2 separate regions of the Homo sapiens genome follow, and region 1 is linked to region 2. The links are contacts of gene promoters, found by promoter capture Hi-C in human tissues and cell types (Jung and others, 2019). All regions are on one chromosome and are shown on one strand. Each heading gives the region's core, a stretch centred on a gene start or on the middle of the fragment in contact. The rest is flanking DNA. Distances are from core to core; before and after follow the strand shown. Region 1 overlaps CYB561A3 (cytochrome b561 family member A3). Region 2 holds the start of VWCE (von Willebrand factor C and EGF domains).

Region 1 (3,093 bases), core at 462-2,961, 61 kb after region 2:
CCTGGGCAACATAGCAAGATCCTGTGTCCACAAAAAATAAAAATAAAAAATATTATCCGGGCATGGTGGCACATGCCTGTTCTCTCAGCTACTTGGGGGACTGAGGTGGGAGGATCACTTGAGCCTAAGAGTTCAAGGCTGCAGCAAGCTATGATCATCCCACTGCACTCTAGCCTGAAAAAGAGGGAAACCTGTCTCCTAAAAAAAAAGTGGAGGGGGGAAGCAGGTTTCTTGGACCTCTCATTCTATTTTCACAATAATAAATTCAGCTTGTTTGCAGTTTCTAGGCTAAAAAGCATCATGACAGTCATTGTTTCATCAAACTGAATTGTCACAAGTGAGGCTGGCTGTCAACACAGGTACTAAGGTCAGGCAACATAGGTCCAAATCCAGGCTCTGCCTCTTAGCTGTTTGGCCTCTCCTTTCTTTTTTTTTTTTTTTTTTTTTGAGACAGAGTCTCGTTCTATCATCCAGGCTGGAGTGCAGCGGCGCAATCTCAGCTCACTGCAAGCTCCGCCTCCCGGGTTCACGCCATTCTCCTGCCTCAGCCTCCCAAGTAGCTGGGACTACAGGTGCCTGCCACCATACCCGGCTAATTTTTTGTATTTTTAGTAGAGACGGGGTTTCACTGTGTTAGCGAGGATGGTCTCGATCCCCTGACCTCATGATCCGCCCACCTCAGTCTCCCAAAGTGCTGGGATTACAGGCGTGAGCCACCACGCCTGGCCTGGCCTCTCCTGTCTAACTCTCAATTTCCTCATCTGTAAAAGGGATATAACAGAGCCCACCTCACAAACTTGTAAGAACAAAATGGGATGATATATGTGAACTGCACATGGTAAGCTGCTATCATCAATGGCATCGTATTGCCATTTTACAAATGGGGAAAATGAGGCTCACCAGGGCCCCAAGGCACAGATTTGAAAGCATGGGACAAAGATTACAAAGATGGATCCCAGGTTGGGCGCAGTGGCTCACACCTGTAATCCCAGCACTTTGGGAGGCAGAGGCGGGTGGATCACCTGAGGTCAGGAGTTCGAGGCCAGCCTGACCAACATGGTGAAACCCCATCTCTACTAAAAAATATAAAAATTAGCTGGGCATGATGGCGGGCACCTATAATCTCAGGTACTTGGGAGGCTGAGGCAGGAGAATGGCCTGAACCCAGGAGGCGGAGGTTGCAGTGAGCCAAGATCACGCCATTGCACTCCAGCCTGGGCAACAAGAGCAAAACTCCATCTCAAAAAAAGAAAAAAAAAAAAAAGATGGATCCCGGAAGAGCAAGCAAGTCCCTCATTCGGTGGCCTGACTAAACCATGAGAGGCTTCAATCTCCTGTTCTCTAGAGCTGGTTAAAAACTACAGCTCAGGTCGGGCATGATGGCTCAAGCCTGTAATCCCAGCACTTCAGGAGGCTGAGGTGGGCAGATCACAAGGTCAGGAGATCAAGACCATCCTGGCTAACACGGTGAAACGCTGTCTCTACTAAAAATACAAAAAAAAATTAGCCGGTCACGGTGGCAGGCGCCTGTAGTCCCAGCTACTCGGGAGGCTGAGGCAGGAGAATGGCGCAAACCTGGGAGGTGGAGCTTGCAGTGAGCCGATATCACGCCACTGCACTCCAGCCTGGGCGACACAGCAAGACTCCGTCTAGAGAAAAAAAAAAAAAAAAAAAACACTACAGCTCAAAGGCCAAATCCAGCTCGCTACCTATGTTTGCAAATAAAGCTTTATTGGAACACGTGATCCACACTTGTGTGTATGTGTTGTCTATGGCTGCTCTCACAATACAGTGGCAGAGCTGAGTAACTGCAACACAGATTCTGTCTTGCAAAACTGAAATATTTATCTGACCCTCTATAGAAAGTTTGCCAACTCCTGCCCTAGAGTATTTGTGAAGCCACCCTTCTGAGATGCCCCCCATCTTAACCCCTTCCTCCCCCAAATGACAGCTAGGCCCAGAGACAGCCCAACCCACCCTACCCCCATAGCCCCAAGCCCAACATTTACAAAGGCCAGCCTTGGAGAGGGAAAGTGCAGCTTTGTCCAGCCTGAGCCCTATCCCGCCTCCCTTCCTGACCTCTTACTCACCACCTCCATAGAATACCACCATGCCAGCAACCATAAGCACTGGGTGCCAGTTGAACATGTAGATGCTGCCATTCCAGGCAAAGCCACCACGCCAGTACTGCATCCAGTAGATAGTGAAGAGGATGCACATAGAGCCCAGGGACCCCAGCAGCAGGCAGGACAAGTAGAACCGTCCAGACACCATTCTGATCACGCACTCCTAGAAGAAGGAGAAGTCACAAATCTCCACTGGCTCAGATGCACCCAGTTCTCTGGCTAAAGGAGGTAACACTGATTTAGCTCTTGGCCTGTGGGATGGAATCTTTTTGCTTCAGTTCCCCTGCATCAGCCTGGGCACCACCCCCCGCCCGAGGCCTCAATGCCTGGGTGGGCCTGATCTTCAGTCACAATGACTGAGGCCCCACCCCAGCACCTGGCAGTGCCCAGACAGAGCAGCAAACTCAAGGCTATGGCTGGCCCTGGCGAAGGCCAGATGCCAAGGCCCAAGACCCAGAGTCCTGGGATTCCTCTCCCCTCACAGGACCAGAAGGTAAAGAATTACCACCCCATACCCCCCAGGAAAAAAGGGACAGGAATCAAAATCCAGGCTAAATTACGCAAACACCCAGGCCTTGGGTTCTAAGATAAGAAGGCAAAAATTACAGTCTGAAAAGAGCAAACACCCCACTATTACCCTAGACAGGAAGGAGTCAGAAAAGTTCTTCCCCATAGAGTAAGCTCTATGGGGCTAATCTTCACTGGAGAGGTAACCAGGCCTTCACTCCACTGCCCACACTCCACACCTTGAACCAGCTGATGCCCCTCAGCTGTCTCCAGCCCTGAGACTTCTGCTTTCTCTTCCTCTGGGGAAAGTCCAGAGAAAAAAAGAGGAAGCAACAACTCATGGTCCAGAAAGCAAGAGATTTATTTTGAGATTTCCACAAGTCCTTGATAAACCCAGAAACCAACTCTGGTTTCAGGCATGGCAAATGCTTAAAGCCCTGAGCAGTTGCTCTTAAACGCT
Region 2 (3,291 bases), core at 307-2,806:
AAAAATCTGTGCCAAAATGTGACAAGTATTCCGGAAAGGGAAGCTCAGGGTGCAATGGCAGCACACAAAAGTCTGAGGAAAGCTGTCCCTGGGGCCTTTTTCCCTCTCTGAGGTCATCACAGAAGAAAGGGGGGGCCCTCCTGCTGGCGGGAGCTGGCAGTGAAGTCTCATCCACCCCCTTGCTGGAGTGATTATGGCAGCAGCCTGAGAAGGAGGGGACCGGGCGAATGAGCGGAGCCTTGGGACTCTCAGAAACGGACAGGCAGTGCCACCAAGGCGGCAGATAAAAGGGTGCCCAGGGAGGCTGATGGAGTCGAACTCTCAGGTGGGCAGGGACCGAGCACCCGCCAGAGCGCCCTAAGGAGCCTCCTAGGGCTGGTGACAGAGGGACAGGTGGTGGGAGCCTGTGGAACGCCGGGGAGTCGGGGCAGGTTCTGAGCAGGAACTGGCGGTGGCTGTGGAACACACGTGTGAGCTACAAGCCTGGCCGGGCCGCCCCCGCTGCGCGCCCCCCGGAGGACGTGGCCGCGGGCCAGGCCGCCTGCTGACACAGTGTTCCCTAGCTCCGAGCATCACGCACACACGCGCACGGCCCCACCGCGGCCCGGGGGAAAGCACGTGCGGAGGGCGGCATCCATCGCGAAAGACAGCGGAGGGGCATGCACCCCACCCCCACGCGCGCACACGCACGGACAGAAAACGAAAAGTGACCCAGAGACCCCGGCTGTTCCAAGGTCCATGAAGTTCGTAGGGCCAAGACCCAGGGAAAGCCCCGCGCGGCAGGGGAGGCCAGGCGCTGCCCGGGCAGAGCCACGGGCACGCTGGGGGGTGAGCCAGCCAGTCCGGAGACCAGATGGCACGTCCTGGGCTCCCCTCTCCAGAGGTCCGCGCTCCAGGGCACATTAGGAGTCACCCAACGCCTGGACCTCCGATCTCCCAGGTCCCAGTCTGGACAGCCCCAGCCAGGGGGGCACGATGAGCACCCGCCTAGAGGCACAAGTTGCTGACTCTTTGTGCCGTCCCCGAGCTGTGCCCGCGCTGATAGCACCCCAGAGGAAGCCCCGACACGCGGCTGCCTGCGGCTCCTGAGCGCCCCTCCGCGCCTCTCGACTGCACGCCGGTAGCGCTCTCCCGGGCGGGGGAGCGGGGAGGAGCTCCGGGCGCTTACCTCTCGGCCGCGAAGTGCCCGGGCGGCTTCCTCCCGGTGTAGCCTCGGGCTGGTGCCCCCGGCAGCAGGAGCGCGACACAGGCGGCCCGAAGGAGCAGTCCGGCCCACATGACCGGCGGCGGCGGGTCCCCCGGGCTGGGCTCGGCTCCTGCGCCGCGCGCGGGAGAGGGGGCTGCCGGCCCTCGCCCCTCCTCCTGGCGCCGTGGGGAGCGAACCAGCGATCCCCGAAATGGCACGCAGAGCTGAGCAGGGGGGCTTGGGACGCCGAGAGGAGGGGCCGAGGGCCGCGAGGGGACGCGGCGGACGATTGTGGGGAGGGTCTCTGGCACCTCGAAGCGAAACACACAAAGGCAACGCCGCCCGCCTGCTGATGCCTCTCCGAGAGGCGCGGAGCCCGGGGCGGGGGCAAAGATCAGGGACCCCTGGGGGCGGGGTTTCGCCCTCGGCCCACACCCCCTGCCCCGGTTTGGGAGTCGGCTTCCTGCGAAGCGCTGACTGAAGGCGTCAGACCGAGGCCCCGGGAGGAAACAGACTTCGGGAACAAGGCTAGCACCAGAGGCTGCGCGCCCCGGGCATGGCCCCTGTCGGTGGGACCCGAGACGCCTTGTTGTGACGAGGTGGGAACCGTGGAAATTCGAACCCACGACGCCAGGTCGCTGTGCCGCTGAGCAGTTCTAGGCCTGCCCCCAGCCTGCCAGAAGGTCTGCACCCTAACGCCGGAGTGCGTTGATCTGTGGGTCCAACCGCTCCCTGGCCTGGGGCCCTAGCCACTTTTGAAGCCCCGGGCTCCTCTGGGCACCCAGGGGGCAGATGGCCGGCCTCCCGACTGCTGGTGGCAAGACCAGGAAGCAGCTGGCGCCGTTGGCAGTGGAGAGGCAGCAGCAGATCTGGAAGGCTCCTCTTTGCCCCTTCTGCAGCTGCCCCAGGCCGTGGTCAGAGACTGGGGGGCTGCCTAGGGATTTAGGCAAAGAAGGGGTGCGGAAATCAAAATCATCCCGCTGGGAGAAAGCTGAAAGGATAACTGATTTTACCTTCTGCTCCATGCAGTAATCTTTCCCTTAGCCACCCACAATTAGTCAAGATTTTGCTTAAATACTTCCAGGGGTAAGAAACTCACTATCTGTTAAGAAGCGGCCCAATCCAGTTTTGAACCACATTTGTTTTAAAGTGTCTTCACTTCCCAGTTGAACAATCCCTGTTCCTTTGGCCTTCCTGCTACCTCTGCCTTTACTGAGGTGCTTAACATTGGTGGCCACAAATGGACATGGCGTACCAGCGGTGGCCTGGACTCGTGCCTCCTTCCTGCAGACACCATACTTTTACTAATGCACCCTAATATTACGTTTTTGGCAACCCCATGATGTTAATTATGACACATTGAGTTTGCAGTAAAGAAAAACCACAGGTGGCCGGGCGCGGTGGCTCACACCTGTAATCCCAGCACTTTGGGAGGCTGAGGTGGGCGGATCACCTGAGGTCAGGAGTTCCAGAACCAGCCTAGCCAATATGGTGACGCCCCATCTCTACTAAAAATACAAAAATTAGCTGGGCATGGTGGCGGGCGCCTGTATTCCCAGCTACTCAGGTTGAGGCAGGAGAATCACTTGAACCCAGGAGGCAGAGGTTGCAGTGAGCCAAGATTGCACCATTGCACTCCAGCCTGGGCGACAGAGCAAGGCTCCATCTCAAAAAAAAAAAAGAACGAAAAAAAGCAGGCATTTTTTGTTGTGCTTTTATGTTATTTAAACACAAGCTGCCAAGTGGTCTCCCTACCTGAAGCTGTGTGGCCCCATTTTTTTTTTTTTTTTTTTAGATGGAGTCTTTCTCTGTCGCCCAGGCTGGAATGCAGTGGCACGATTTCGGCTCACTGCAACCTCCATCTCCCGGGTTCAAGCAATTCCCCTTCCTCAGCCTCCCGAGTAGCTGGGACTACAGGCGCACATCACCATGCCCAGGTAATTTTTGTATTTTTAGTAGGGACGGGGTTTCACCATGTTGACCAGGCTGGTCTTGAACTCCTGACCTCAAATGATCCACCCACGTCAGCCTCCCAAAGTGCTGGGATTACAGGCGTGAGCCACCGCACCCGGCTTGTGGCTACATTTTTGCAGACATTCACCTTG

The links. Contacts are between HindIII fragments. The study calls those that stand out against the background at their distance.
Region 1: a contact is called between a fragment that was not itself captured here and the fragment with the promoter of VWCE in region 2, in 3 of the 25 tissues and cell types used here (H1 embryonic stem cells, IMR-90 fibroblasts and pancreas).

Annotation. Positions count from the first base shown.
Region 1 is chr11:61,354,440-61,357,532 of GRCh38, forward strand. It overlaps CYB561A3 (cytochrome b561 family member A3), which reads right to left. Exons shown (of 7, transcript NM_153611.6): 3 at 2,091-2,289. The coding sequence starts at 2,274. Among named protein-coding and RNA genes, the nearest start is that of CYB561A3, 5.9 kb to the right of the region's middle. The HindIII fragment of the contact is 3,137 bases long and covers 144-3,093 here.
Region 2 is chr11:61,293,760-61,297,050 of GRCh38, forward strand. It overlaps VWCE (von Willebrand factor C and EGF domains), which reads right to left and starts at 1,557. Exons shown (of 20, transcript NM_152718.2): 1 at 1,169-1,557. The coding sequence starts at 1,278. RefSeq lists silencers at 377-636, 1,077-1,386, 1,567-1,636 and an enhancer at 608-1,310. The HindIII fragment of the contact is 27,132 bases long and covers 1-3,291 here.